2 separate regions of the Homo sapiens genome follow, and region 1 is linked to region 2. The links are contacts of gene promoters, found by promoter capture Hi-C in blood cells and fetal thymus (Javierre and others, 2016). All regions are on one chromosome and are shown on one strand. Each heading gives the region's core, a stretch centred on a gene start or on the middle of the fragment in contact. The rest is flanking DNA. Distances are from core to core; before and after follow the strand shown.

Region 1 (7,020 bases), core at 3,397-5,896, 520 kb after region 2:
TTTATCCATGTTGTAGCATGTTTCAGAATTTTCTTCCTTTTAAGGCTGAAAAATACTCCATTTATGTACATTACACATTTTGTTTATTCATCTATCAGTGGACATTTGGGTTGCTTCTACCTTTGGGTATTGTGAACAATGCTGCTATTAACATGGGAATACAAATACCTGTTTGAGCCCCTGTTTTCAGTTCTTTTGAGTATATACCCAAAAGTGGGATTGCTGGATCATATGGTAATTCTATGTTTAATTTTTTTGAGGACCCACCATATTGTTTTCCATAACAGCAACACTGCTTTTCCTTTTAGTTTCTTGCATCTTCTTTGTAAAGTCCCTATTCTGCATCTTACTCACCAAGCCTCCTTTTCTTATTTCAGTTTAGCCTATTTTTTTTGTTTCGTCTCCCATTTGTAATCCCTCTTTTATGTCCTCTTATGCAATTTTGCATCCCCATATGTATGTATATCTGTCATGTCTAAGTATACGTTTGTGCAAGAGGAAAAATGTGTCTGTACAGGCAAGGAGCTCAGTAAACCTCATACCTTCTCTGCCACCCTCAATCTCAGCCCCAGCATTTTTGTGGCCATTTAATACTCTGTTACGTAGAGATACAAAAATTTGTTGATTCAGTGCCCTAAATAAATACTTTTAAGTTGGTTCTGTTTGCTATGATGAACTTCTTTGAACACTTATCTTTTGGACTCATGTCTGTTTCCTTAGGTAAATTCCTAGAGCTGGAATTTCTAGGCCAAAGGAAATAACATTCTTGTTTTTGTTTTGTTTTATTTTGAGTCAAGGTCTAGTTCTGTCACCCAGGCCGGAATGCAGTGTTGCGATCGCAGCTCACTGCAGCCTTGACCTTCCAGGCTCAATCAATCCTCCCACCTCAGCCTTCTGAGTAGCTGGGACTACAGGTGCATACCACCATGCCCAACTAATTTTTATATTTTATTTTTGGTTGAGACAAGGTCTCGCCATGTTGCCCAGGCTGCTCTCGAACTCCTAACCTAAAGCTATCTGCCCACCTTGGCCTCCCAAAGTGCAGTGATTACAGACGTGAGACACCATACCTGGCTGGAAATAACATTTTTTAAACTTTTGAAATATATTGCCTATTTGCCTTCATAAAAGTTCTTCTGAAATACACTCCTACTCACAGTGTATGAAAAAGGCCTATTTCCTGGATTTTTAACGAACACATTACTAGTTGAGAGATGTTAAATGTTTTCATGTTTGATTACAAGAGGAGATGTTGAATGTTTTCCAGATGTTTGTTAGTTATTTGTGTTTCTTTTGTGAGTTGCCAGCCATGGGTCCTTTGTCCATTTTTCTGTTGGACACTCCTTAAGATTTTAAACAAGACAGTTCAAAGAAAAGAAAATGTAAAGATGCTGGTTAAGAGTTCTGCAGCAAAGAAGCTAATAGTATAAGAGTGAAAGGAGAATTTTAAGACTCTGGCTAGCATAAAATATTGTGGAAATATGGATGAGAGAGATTCTCAACCCTGGTTGCCCTTTAGAGTCAGTTAAACCAGCCTCTCCAGGGAGGGAATCCAGGCATCAATTTTTGTTTTTTAAACTCCCCATAAATTTTAATGTTCCACAGGGGTAGACAAAAAGTGACTTACTGATAAAAGCAGGAACTATGAAGTAGAGTGAATGTGACAAAATACTGTAGCAATTTGGAGAAATTAACCTTTAAGAGAAAGGGGTTGGAGTTATTCCTGATCAAGGGGAGTCATGATTGGCACAGATAAACACATCAGCGTATAAGTGGCATCATACCTGGTTATCCAGTCTCTCTGCTGTGGTAATACAGAGTCTTCACTCTTGACGACGTGTTGTGTCACATGATGCTGTCCAGTGATATCAGTTCTTGAATGATGTGAGTTCCGCCCAGGACAGTTGCCTCCTAGTTGAGTGGCTGCACCTTCCTCCATTCTGACAGTGATTGTACAATGTTAAAACTAAGCTGTAAGCTAAGTGAGGACAGGGTCTGAATATCTCCAGAACTTCACACAGAGTCTGGAATGTAGTAATTGTAACAAATATATGCGGAGAATGGACTGAGTATCATAAAAAGGATCTGAGATTATTCCAATTTCTTCCATAGTTATCATACTAAATCAAGATTTTCTTCATTGAATACAATTTTAATCACTTTTTAGTACTTTCTACACAGTGATGAACAACTTTTTTGTCATATGATCTTCAAGGACAAGTTTTCTTTGAATTGTAGAAGGTTCCTCTTATGACAACTGATTGAAGACACGTTTGAGGCCTTAAATTCTTCATATGAGCATTTAAAATATTTCTATCTGCCTTGCCTTACCTTCTTTATGATTTTTATATCACTAGTTTGACTTGGAGTGTTTCTTGTATACATACAGAAGGCTGCTATAAATTATCTCTGTTTGTATATGGTTGATGTGTTTTCTAAATAAAAGCTGAGAGTTTTGTTTTTGCTTTGGGTTTGGGGTTTTTTGTTTCAGGGTGTTTTGTTTTTTTTTTGTTTGTTTCCCAGATACATCACATATTAGGTACTGGCTTGTCTCTCATGGTCAAAAATACGTTCAAATGCAATTCTTCTGTATCATTGCAGAAAATAATTTGTGCAACAGTTTTTTAAGTACCCTTTAAAAATTATATTTTACATCTGGATTTTTACCACCAGTTTAAAAAATTACAATTCATACACTGTTATAGCAACAATATTGGTTTTTTCTGAGTTAGAGGTCTTCATTTTGAAGTGAGAAATACAAACCTACATTTTTAGTTACCTAAATTTTCAACCAAATACTCTGCCAAAAGTCTTTTAGAAACTCAATTTTAAAGTCCTTCAGGCTGTCTCAATGAAAATCATAAGCAGTTCTTTGGTATTCTGTCAAGACCATAAAGAAAATAGAGTATTATCTAAAATGTTTCTTTTAAGCCATTTGAAATTATCACAGTACCTTGCTCAAAGTAGTTACTCAGTGAACATTTGTGGAGGGAAGGAGGGAATGCTTGCATGCCACAGTTGCCCAAGAATAGCAGCTGTGTAGAATGTCTGTGTGGGGACCCCGATTCCAGCAGAACTTTAACCCTATTGACAGCTGCAACAAGGAAACTGCATTATTTAACTGGTTAGTTATTTGGGTTGTAATGAGCAGAGGATCATTTCAGTTACTTCAAGAATGGATACTTGTTTGCAAGGTGACCCAGAATTAGCTTAACAGCCAGGTCTCAGGAAGAGCAGGAACCAGGGAAGGTTCCTAGGAAATGGATTGTTCTTTAATTTTTACCCCAGTGCTCCATCATTACCCTGGCCCCACTGCCCTCCTCATGTGTGTTCCATACCCTCACTCCTCTCCCCATTTGCAGGCTTTCTCTGCGAGTATAGCACCTGCTCATTCCCAACCCTGCCAGTGTTTTGCCTTTACTGGCCTCCTTTACCCCTCTGCATCCATTCAAGCTTCTGCTTCCACCACAAATTGCTTCCTTCTTGCCATGTTTCTTATTTGATGGGTGTTCAGCTGTGGTGTTTCATATACATTCATTAAGCTAGGCTGACTTTCTGTCTGCTTGACGTTTTGCTTACCTAGGGAATTGCATTAACATCACCTACCGTGATGGTGGATTTGACAATTTCTTGTTGTTGTTATATATTTTTTTGGTTTTATGTATTTTACGGCTAATTTATTGGTTATACTTAGACTTGAATTATTACATTTTCCTGCCGAGTTTAACCTTTTTTCTCCCTTTCCTGTGGTGCTGATGAATTTAACCTTTTGATTAAAGTGAGTTACCATATTTTATCTGTCTTTGCCTTAAGCTTTTTTATTTTTTAATTTTTGGCTGATATTGATAAAGCTATCCAGGTTTGTTTTAGTTGCTATTTGCCTTGTATATCTTTTCCTGTCTTTTTTTCTTTTCACCCTTCAATGTGTCTCATAAACAGCGCATACCTGAATTTTAGTCTTTTGTTGGCTTGTTTTATTTATTAATTTTTTTTATAACTGCACTACTTTTTTCTTTTTACTAGAGAATGTAATCCAGTCACATTTGTTGGGAGTTCTGATTTATTTGAATTTATTTTAAATGTGTTACGTTACAATAAACGGCTCTTTAGAACACTATTTTTCAAGCTCATTAAGCCTGTAGAGCAGGGGTCCCCAACCCCTGGGCCACAGACCAGTACTGATCTGTGGTGTGTTAAGAACCAGGCTGCAAAGCAGGAGGTGAGTGGCAGGCAAGTGAGCAAAGCTTCATCTGTATTTACAGCCACTCCCCATTGCTCACATTACCTCCTAAGCTCCACCTCCTGTCAGATCAGCAGTAGCATTAGTTTCTCATAGTAGCGTGAACCCTATCGTGAACTGCACATGCAAGGGATCTAGGCTGTGCACTGGTTTTGAGAATCTAACGCCTGATGATCTAAGGTGGAGCTGAGGCACTGATGCTAGCATTGAGGAGCAGCTGCAAATACAGATTAACATTAGCAGAGAGGTTTGACTGCACAGAGACCATCATAAATCAACTGCTTGCAGACTTATATCAAAACCCTATCAGTGAGTGGCAAATGACAATTAAGCTGTATCTGGTGGCAGGCTTAACTTTATAGTGGCAAGTGAGTTGATGTACTTCAGTTGTACAGCTGCATCTGGTAGCAGGCCTTAAGTCAGAATCCAACAGTTATTTTAGCCCACACATGGCCCACCCATTATTTTATTTACCATGCCTCTTTCTCACACTGCACACTTGTCTCAGTCACAGTTTTGGTAAGCCCATGAGCTAATCCTAGCCAAATTAGTAAAAAATAAACGTCACTGGAGAGCTTCTTTGAAAAGGGGGGAAAGACCCAATGATGAGACAGCAGAAGACTTTTAAGACTGGCAACAAAATGAAAGCTGCATTTAAAAGAAAATACCAAGAGTCCTATTTAAATTACGGGTGCATTGAACCTGCTTTGTATAATATGTGGTAACTAGCTATCCAACGAAGCCATGAAACCTTCAAAACTGCTTTGCTACATGGAGACCAAGCACCTCGCATTAAAAAACAAGCTTTTGGGTTTTTTTGTTTGTTTGTTTGTTTGTTTTAGTGAACACGAAGAACAGAAGCAATCATTGAAGGCCACAGCTTCATCAAATGTGTCTGTACTGAGAGTATCATTGTTAGTGGCTAAATGCATTGCTAAAGCTAAGAAGTCCTTTACTGTTGGTGAAGAGTTGACCCTGCCTGCTGCTAAGGACATTTGTCTTGAACTTTTAGGAGATCTTGCAGTTAAAAAGGTGGCACAAGTTCCTCATTCAGCTGGCACCATAACTAGACAAATTGATGAAATAGCAGAGGACATTGAGGCACAATTGTTAGAGTGGATTAATGAGTCACTGTGATACGCAGTCCAGGTTGATGAGTCTACCGATGTTGACAAGGCAACAATGCTTGTTTTGTGTAATGTATTTTTCAGGAGGATGTGCATGAGGATATGTTATGTGCACTTTTGTTGCCAGCCCACACCACAGCTGCAGAACTGTTCAAGTCTTTGCGTGATTACATGTCAGGAAAACTGAACTGGTCATTTTGTGTGAGTATATGCATGGACAGAGTGGCTGCCATGGCTGGACAGCTTCTGGTTTCACTACTCACATCAAAGAGGTTGCTTCTGAATGTGAGTCTACACACCATGTCATCCATAGAGAAATGCTGGCTAGCCAAAAAATGTCACCTGAACTTAACAGCATTTTGCAGGATGTGATTAAAATTATCAACCACGTTAAAGTACATGCCCTTAACTCACGTCTCTTCGCACAGCTCTGTGAGGAGGTGGGTGCAGTGCACACATGTCTTCTCTCACACACACAAGTGAGATGGCTTTCTAAAGGTAGATCACTGATCAGAGTTTTTGAGTTACAAGAGCCACTCCGGAGATTTCTTTTAGAAAAACAGTCACCACTGGCAGCACATTTCAGTGACACAGAATGGGTTGCAAACCTGGCTTCCTTGTGTGACATATTCAACCTGCTCAACGAACTCGATCTGTCACTTCAGGGGAGAATGACAACTGTGTTCAAATTGTCAGATAAAGGGGCTGCATTCAAAGCCAAACTGGAATTATGGGGGTGACAAGTGAACATGGGGATTTCTGACATGTTTCAAACATTAGCAGATATTTTGAAAGAGACTGAACCAGGGCCTTCTTTCCCCCAGCTGGTGCATGATCACCTATCTCAGCTTTTAAAGGAGTTTGAGCATTACTTCCCAACCACAAAAGACCCCCCAGACTGGGAAGGAATGGATCTGCAACCCATTTGTGGATAAGCCAAGGTGAATCGACTTTGTCCGTGCTGGAAAAGGACCAACTGCTTGAGATCGCAAATGACGGTGGCCTTAAAAGTATGTTGAAACAGCTTCAAATCTTCACACAGTCCGGATTGAAGTCAAGGCATAATATCCAGAGACTGCCCCAAAAGCACTGAAAAGCTTGCTTCCATTTCCAACACCCTATCTTTGTGAAGCAGAGTTTTCTGCAGTAACAGCAACCAAAACGAGATTATGGAGTAGACTGGACATAAACAACACACTTCAGGTATCACTGTCTCCCGTCACCCCCAGATAGGACCGTCTAGTTGCAGGAAAACAAGCTCAGGGCTCCTACTGATTCAACATTATGATGAGTTGTATAATTATTCCATTATATATTACACTGTAATAATAATAGAAATAAAGTGCACAATAAATGGAATGTGCTTGGATCATCCCAAAACCATTTCCTCCCCCTGGTCCCTGGAAAAATTGTCTTCCACAAAACCAGTCCCTGGTGCCAAAAAGGCTGGGGACCACTGCTGTAGAGCACAGGTAAGTCACACTTTTTGTGGAATACCACAGAACATTAAGCTTAAGTTAACTATATTCATACTTCCCATGAAATTGTATGCTCTCTTCTGCTAGACTATAGGTTACATAAAGAATACTGCACTCGGGTTTAAGAAGAAAAGTTAAATTTGATAACATAGTGTCCATTCACTTAATGCCTTCT
Region 2 (7,311 bases), core at 2,237-4,736:
CCTGCCATATATAAGAACAGAGGCTGTAACAAAGACTAGTCTGCTCCCCCCACCCCCAAAGTCACTGGAGCTCATGGCCATGTATTAAGATCCAGCTTCATGAAGCTAGAGAGGACGGGAAAGCTCTGGGTTGAAGAACTGGCAACAAACTAATCAGGAATATTGGACCCCCAAAAGAGAGAGCTGAAAAAAATAAAATTCACTTCCCCAGAGAAAAACCAGAGAACTGTCTCATATGGATCGGTCCACTGAGATGCCATAAAAGAGAAAGGCCCATCCACTAATTGCCAGGAAAGTCTTCCAGTACAGGAAGCGGAGAGAAATAAAGTGATTACAGGTTTTATCTGGTATGTAGTAAAGTTACCTTGAGCCCAAGATCGGGCAAGGTCATAGCATAGACTTGTGAAGGAACAAAAGCCTCTGAGGTCAGTCCTTAGGACCACAGAACAATTTTGTTCACACTTGGAGCAATGACAGAAAAATCCACCAGTTCCTCCTCGTCCCCCACCCAACCACCACCACACCAAGGAGCGGACAGGCCAAGAAACTTGTCTCAAGTGGCATTACCTTGCCAATCCCTCCGGTTTGAAAGGCGCCTCACACACTGCCGGGCCGAATGGGCAGGCGTCTATGCGAAACCCCGTGCACTGGTTATTGCTAATTGCAAAATACTCATGTGTTACAGCATGCTAGGAATTAGCCAACAGCTGCTTTTTGCTTCGGTAATGAGGCCCTATTACACTCTGCTGGACTGAGTTCTCTTCCTTCTTCCTAGCACTGGTTTCCTGTCTGATTTTCTTCCAAAACCGGGAATTGCCTCCGCTCACATCCTGGGCTCAAAGCCCTAGTGACACAGATTATTCAGTTGGGGCACTGATGTCCGGTCTGACTTCCCTCCAGGCCCCAGGGTCTATGCTAAACCAGGCAGTGAGATTGTAATACTCCAATGATCACTGCTAAAGACACATTAGGGAAAAGAACAGAGAAGAAATCAAAAGATCCCTTCCTGATTTCAGGGAGGAGGAGACAGACAGGCGTTTGGGGTTTGTCGAACGGGAGACGGAGGGAGTGGGTACAGACTTCAACCTATTCCCTCATTATGTTTACATTCAACACAAACCACTAGCGGGGCTGGGAAGCAAACATAATCAACAACTTTTCGGATTTTAAACTCATCACCTTGGTGCTCATTACGAAGGGTGCATTGACTGCACCCTCAATGAACAGACTAGGCTGTCTCTACTGTGGGTGCTTATAGGAGCACCATGGGAGGCAGAGGGAAGACAGAAAAGCCATTTTGGGGACTCACCAGGTATAGGGAATCACTTTGGAACAAGGGACCCCCCCATCAGATCCAAAAGAGAGCCACGTTCCAAAATTCTTTCCAGCTGAGTCCACCCCTCCCTGGAAGCCCACCCTAGCCCCTTCTAGAGGCCAAGGCCACCGCCTTATGGAGCATGAGCATCCCTTGCTGCAGCCAACTATGCTAGACTCCACAGATGCTGACCACGGTGGGCTTCATGTTGTATTGGGCCTGCGTTAACCCAGCTCTCTCTCGAGACAGAGCGGGTGGGGGAGCTGCAGCAGAGGGCAGACACGCCATCAGCACCCCCCCGCCAACAGCACCTTCCTGGTATTTATAAACACAGAGATCACACGCACAATCCCTCCAGTGCAAACCAGTCCGGCTGCTTTAGAAACAAGTTGTTTTCTGCTTCCAGAACCACCCAGGAGCCTGCGTGATGTCTCTTCCCCCACCCGACCCCCTCTTCCCTCTGCCGGTCTCCTTGCTCCAGGTACCCCCAGACCCTCAAGGTGCTCCTTCGTTCCTGGGGGGCAGTGCAGCCTCCTGTCCGTGATCCTTACAGAAGACGGGTCGGCGGGGGGGCAGGCAGGCAGGCAGGGGGCACACAGGCGGCATGAGCCAACCAAGGCTGGCTTCTTCCTTCCTGACCTTCGCACCTGATTCCCAGAGCGGCAGCCCTCGCCCTCGCTCCAGATTACTTGAAGGAGTCCAACCATGTTTCTGGGTCCCCAACCCCTTTCAGAAAGGAGTTATGACTGATGGAGAACGGGGAGGAGAGAGAGAGGGCTTTCCTGAAGGAATAGGGTCCCAGGATGTCGAGAGGTGCCAGTGGGTGCAAAGATTTTCTTGTCTGTCCACCACCCAGAGAGAAGACGCGGGGCAGGGGTGGGGGGGGGGGGGCAGACACTGGGGAGGGGGAGTAGTTCTTGGAAGGAGGTAACAGGCTCCTGGTAGGGGGCCTACAATTCCAGGAGTCTATCTGGGTAAAATATAACGTGAGAGGAAAAGGGCATGTTGTCTCTTCAAGCCCACTCTCCAATCCCCTAGTTTAAAAGGGGGTGGGGGGGAAGGGGAGGACGAAAATCCAGAACTTACAACGGTGGCCCGTAGGTATTTTCTCGCCAAGAAAAAGAAAAGAAAGCAAAAGAGGCAGTGGCGGCGAGAAGAGGGCAGGGGTCCGCCCGCGCCGCCAGGTGCACCGGGGCCCGCACCTACCTGCTGGCCGCCGCCGCCGCTGGAGTAGGACTCGGCGTGCGCAGGAGAGCCGCTGCTGCCCCGGGACGAGGTGTCAAAGTTCCCGGGATAATCCTGGTACATGATCCGCGGTGGGGGCCGGAGAGGAAACAGGGTGTTTTTCTTCCCCCGCCCTCGCCGCGGCCGCGCACCGGCTGCTGCGCGCTCGTTCGTCCGCCGGCCGCGCCGCGGGCTCTGGGCTTCGCTCCTGGGTTTCTCCCCCACCGCGGAGGGCGAGGACAGGGAGGCGGCGACACCTCAGGAACAGCGTCCCCCGAGCGTCCCTTACAGCACTTCTTTCCGGCTCTGCGAGCGCCGCGGGACCAGTTGTCCACCCGATCCCTCCCTCTAAAAAGTCGGCGCGTCTCTCGGTCCCTCCCCTGCGCGCGCCCTCCCGCCCCCGCGCGCAGCCGGAGCTCAGCGGGGACCCACGGCCCAATCAAAAATTGGAAATTAAAAAAAAGATTAGGAGCCCAGCGAGCCTGGCCTGCCAGCCCTGGGGACCCCCGATTTCAGACAGGGCCAAAAAGGCGGAAAGAAAAGCTGTCCGCTGGGAGAAACTTCTGTTTCTTCCTTTTAGAAAAGGAGCCGGAGAATAAACTTCCCGTGGCCGACTCGCCGCCCGAGTTTCGGGGCGGCTCGGATACTTGACTAGGAGAAGGCGGCGTGCGCCCGTCCCGCGGCCCCGAGCGCGCCAGGGGGACAGCGGCTCGTGGGGCTCAAGTAGAGCTGGCGCTGAGAGGGACGCGGCCCCGCTCCCCGCTCCGGCGCCCAGACCCGCACCCCTTCCCCGGAGCCCGCTCCCGGACGGGCCCGCCTCGCCCGGCCGCGCCTCTCCCTCTCTCTCTCTCTCTCTCTCCCTCTTTCTGTCCCCGCCGAGCGCCGCTCGTTCGCTCGCTCGCTGGTTCGCTCGGAGCCCTAGCGCTCTGCCCGAGATGAGTCACTACAATGGCACGAGTTCAACTCACACTCTTTATTCTCCAGCCCTGTACCATGTGGATTCACTCACGTCAACCCCAGACTCCACCTTGCAGGGAGGAGCGCACGAGGAGGCGGGGGGAGGAGGCCGCGGAGGAGGAAGAGGCGCGGGAGGGGAGGAGGCGGGCGCAGCTCTCCCCTCCCAGCCCCGGCTCCCGGCCGCGCTGACGCCAACCGCGCACCCCGCGCGAGGAAGCCAGGCGGTGGCACGGGCGGGAGCGGGCGCCACGCACGGTTCGGAGGCGCCGAGGCAGCCCCGGCCCTCCCCAGTCCCCCGCTCACCCCCCGGGCCCAGCGCCCTTGGTCTGTTCCATTGGCGCACGTTGCCAAAGATGGTCATTTGCGTTAGAGGACGCGAGTGCGGGTTTCCTCGCTTTCGGGTGACGTGGAGGGAGAGGGATTCCCTCGCCCGCTCCCGAGTGCGCTGCGGCCTCTCCCCCGCCCTGGGAAGGGGCTCGGGGCGGGGCCCCGAGAGCGGCCGCGCGGGTCTCGCCTCCGGATTTTAGAAAATAATCACAGCCCTGACGGCGAGACGGGCGGTTCGGTGCGGCGCCACCGGGAGGCCGGGAGCCGGGCGCGCAGAGCCGCTCGCAGGGAGGGCGCGGCTGCGCGCGGTCGTAGGCGCCCTCCGCGGCGCCGCCGAGTGCAGCGGGCGCCCCGGGCGCGCAGGGTGCCCGCGCCGCCCTGCGGCCGGGTGTTGGCGGGGCACGGCGCCGGGCGGGGCTGGCCTGCCTATTTTTCCCTCCGTGGCGGTCTGCCTACCGGTTCCCTTTTTGTTTTTTGTTTTTCATGTTTTCGGTCCTACAGTTAATTCGTTAGGAGTAGCCTTGAAGATGAAATTAACCAGTCAAGACATTCCGGCCGCCCTATACGCCGGGCAATTAGGACGCATCTAATAAGAGTAATCGGGCGTTTATAAGCAAACTCCAGACTGTTACGAATTAAAAAAAAAAAAAAAAAGCCAGCGAGAGGGTGTGCCCCAACGTTGTCGTCTTCAGCTGTTTTGGAGCGAAGTTCAGGGCGCGGGTTGCCGGACATTTGGGTCCTCCTCCCTCGCTGGGCGGGGCTGGGAGGGGCGCGGCGCAGGGTACAGAGCACAGACCTTAGAGCAGGAACGCCCGGCTACGCTATTTACGAGCTGTGAGATCTTGGACGAATTCCTTAACCTCTCTGGGCCTCAGTTTCCTCCTATAAAGTGAAGGAGTTTGGAGACATGACCTTAGGCCCTTCTCTGCTCTGGAGCTCCAATCCTTCCGCTGAGATGATGGTGTGTGTGAATGGAGAAGTACTGTAGCGGAAGTCAGGGAACTTAGGTTTTGGTCCAGGGTCTGTGTTAGCCTCAGTTTACCCAATTCTTAAGTAGCGCCAGCCATCTGTACCCCACAGGGTCCTTATGAGGACCCAATGTTAAGAGGTGTTGAGAGTCCATTGCTGACAACTCGCTGTGCACCGTCACACAACTTCTGTCCTCAGTTTCCTTATCTGCAAAGTGGGGGTGTTGGTAGCAGAGAAAAATAGAGCCGGGAACGCGAAGCTTTCCTGGGGCTCTATATAAAGCGCTGGCATTTCCGGGACGGCTGGCGGCATCTGGCCGCCCCAAGGGCCCCAAGATACGGTAATCCCAAACAATACTCGGGGTCATTGTTTACAGCTATAAAACACATTCTGTCCTGAACGCTATCCCCAAGGACGCGCGCGCGTGCGCGACGAGGCGAGGCCAGCCAGACTCCTCGCACCTCCGCTGCTGCCCGCTGGACAGAGTCCCCAACTCCGCAGGCCCAGGAGAGGGGTGTGGGGCAGGCGGACGCGCGCGCCGGCCGTGGGTGCTTTGCTTTTTTCTTCCCCCTCCCCATCCCTGCGTCCTGGCTTGCCTGGGTGTTTACGCGCCTCTCCCAGCAGGACTGAGTAAATGCAGTCCTTTGACGCAAAACGAATCAGTCCTTCCCCAGCGGCAGCAGCAAAACTCAGAAAACTGGGGGTGGGGGTAGGGACGGGAGGGGCACAGAAGAAATCGTGACATTTTCCCACTCGGTTCTCAGCCCCTCCCCGCGCCACGCGGGCCTCAGGCCGCCCTAGCCAAGTCTTGGGGGCTGCAAAGGGAGGCGCGGCCAAAGCGCCCTGCCTGAGCCCTCCCAGTAGCAACCGCGTGTCGGAGCGGCGCGAACAGACGCACTTTTGGTTTTCCTTTGAGCAGTAGAGGCTGCCCCGCCCTCCCCCACCTGGCGGTCGAAAATCCGGGTGCTTCTGGGTCTCTCCCACACAGTCCTTCCAGTAACGCGGGGGGAAAGAGGCGGGGGAAGGGGAGCGGGAGCTTCCTCCGCGGCCTCCGCAGTCCCGGGCGCGCCCAGCCCCGGCCAGGCGCCGCCGGGAGCGCGCGGGCGAGCGCACCCTCGCGCCCTCGCCCGCCCTCGCCCTGCCAGCTCCCCGGTCCTTTCCTTTCTTGTGGGTTCCCGTAAAGCCCAGCAGCCTGGAGACGTCTGCAGAGCATCACGGAATCTGTGCTGATGCAATTCACTAGCCTCCCTTTGGTGCGCCCTGGCCTGCCTCAGAGCGCTTTGATCCCGGCCCTCTCCTACTCCAGAACTCGTGCTGGCTCCCTCTGCCCGCCGGGAGGCTTGCGTTCCGCAGCCCGCTCACCCCCTTTCAGTCCCCCCAGCGCCGGACACACAGCGCTGTGCCCTGGTGCTGCTGCGGGACTGACCTCCCCCGGTTGAGCGAGTGCCTCAGCGAACTGTGCCTGCCATACAGAGAATTCAGTCTCCAAGTGCCCTCTCCTTGGGAAATCATTCCAGAATCATCCAGTTAGAAAGGGTCCTCTGGCTCCCTGGAATGCTAAAAATAGAGGTGACCCTTTATTGAGTGCTAAAATCAGAGCCAGGCACCATGCTGAATACAGGGCTTGTTCTGTGAAATTCTCACAGCAAACGCTGGAGGTGGGTATTATTCCCTGGTTGCAGAAGAAGACAGTGAGATTGAATAACTTGTCCAGGGGAACTGGTTAGTGAGTTAGTGATCTGTTAGGAGTGCAGCTGAGATTCTCCGACACCAGGCTCTTCTTTTTCCCCAGGACATGGCATGACCTGCCTCCTGTTGGAATGTCTTTGTCTCTCTCTTACTGGTCTTGAAAGGCATGGTCTTTATCTGGTGCATGACTTTATCCTACACTTAGAGGTGCGCCTTAATTCTCCACTGAACAAATAGCCTCAGCGGCATCCCTCAGCTTAGAGAAGAGGCCATGTCAAGTGAGGGAAGGGAAGGGGAAGAGGGAAGCTGGGGTGGGAAGAAAAGGGTAGATGAGCTGGGAAGAAAAGGGTAGGTGAGCTGTCTTCTCATTGCCTCTCTGGGTCTCTGAGACCTCTCTTGCCTTACTTTTGCCGGTCTCCTTGTTTGTCCATCCTGGCCAGTGTTTGGCCCCTGAGAGATGAGGAATCCCAGAATAGCTGCCCCCTCAGAGCTGTGCTGGCCCACACATCTCAGCACCGGATACATGAAGCCCTTTCACACACATCGCCTCATTTGTCCTTACACATGACATCTCTGAAAGGGATATAGACAGCAGAGTGACTCTGGATTGCCAGAAAGGAGGCCGAGGTGCAGAGTGTCACAGCAGCCTACTCAAAATTTTCCAGCTGTAAGTGTCAGAGCCTGAGTTCAAAGCCATCTCACCTGACTTTAAACCCAGCGCTTTGCTGTTTGCCATGCTTCCAACCTTGTAAGTTTAGGAGCAAACTCCATCTTTTTTTTTTTTTTTTTTTTTTTTTTTTTTTTTTTTTTTTTGGAGACAGTGTCTTCCT

What was found. The method cuts DNA at HindIII sites, captures the fragments that hold promoters and counts their contacts. A CHiCAGO score of 5 or more calls a contact.
Region 1: a contact is called between a fragment that was not itself captured here and the fragment with the promoter of FOSL2 in region 2, in 5 of 17 cell types (endothelial precursors, megakaryocytes, M2 macrophages and 2 more). The highest score is 6.1, in endothelial precursors.

The regions. Positions count from the first base shown.
Region 1 is chr2:27,869,322-27,876,341 of GRCh38, reverse strand. All of the region lies in intron 1 of RBKS (ribokinase), which reads left to right. Among named protein-coding and RNA genes, the nearest start is that of RBKS, 18 kb to the left of the region's middle. The HindIII fragment of the contact is 800 bases long and covers 4,247-5,046 here.
Region 2 is chr2:28,389,033-28,396,343 of GRCh38, reverse strand. It overlaps FOSL2 (FOS like 2, AP-1 transcription factor subunit), which reads right to left and starts at 3,486. Exons shown (of 4, transcript NM_005253.4): 1 at 2,522-3,486. The coding sequence starts at 2,623. It overlaps FOSL2-AS1 (FOSL2 antisense RNA 1), which reads left to right and starts at 1,672. Exons shown (of 2, transcript NR_103831.1): 1 at 1,672-1,796. RefSeq lists enhancers at 1,368-1,868, 1,869-2,369, 2,525-3,456 and silencers at 2,487-2,663, 3,150-4,269, 5,817-5,886. The HindIII fragment of the contact is 9,962 bases long and covers 1-5,053 here.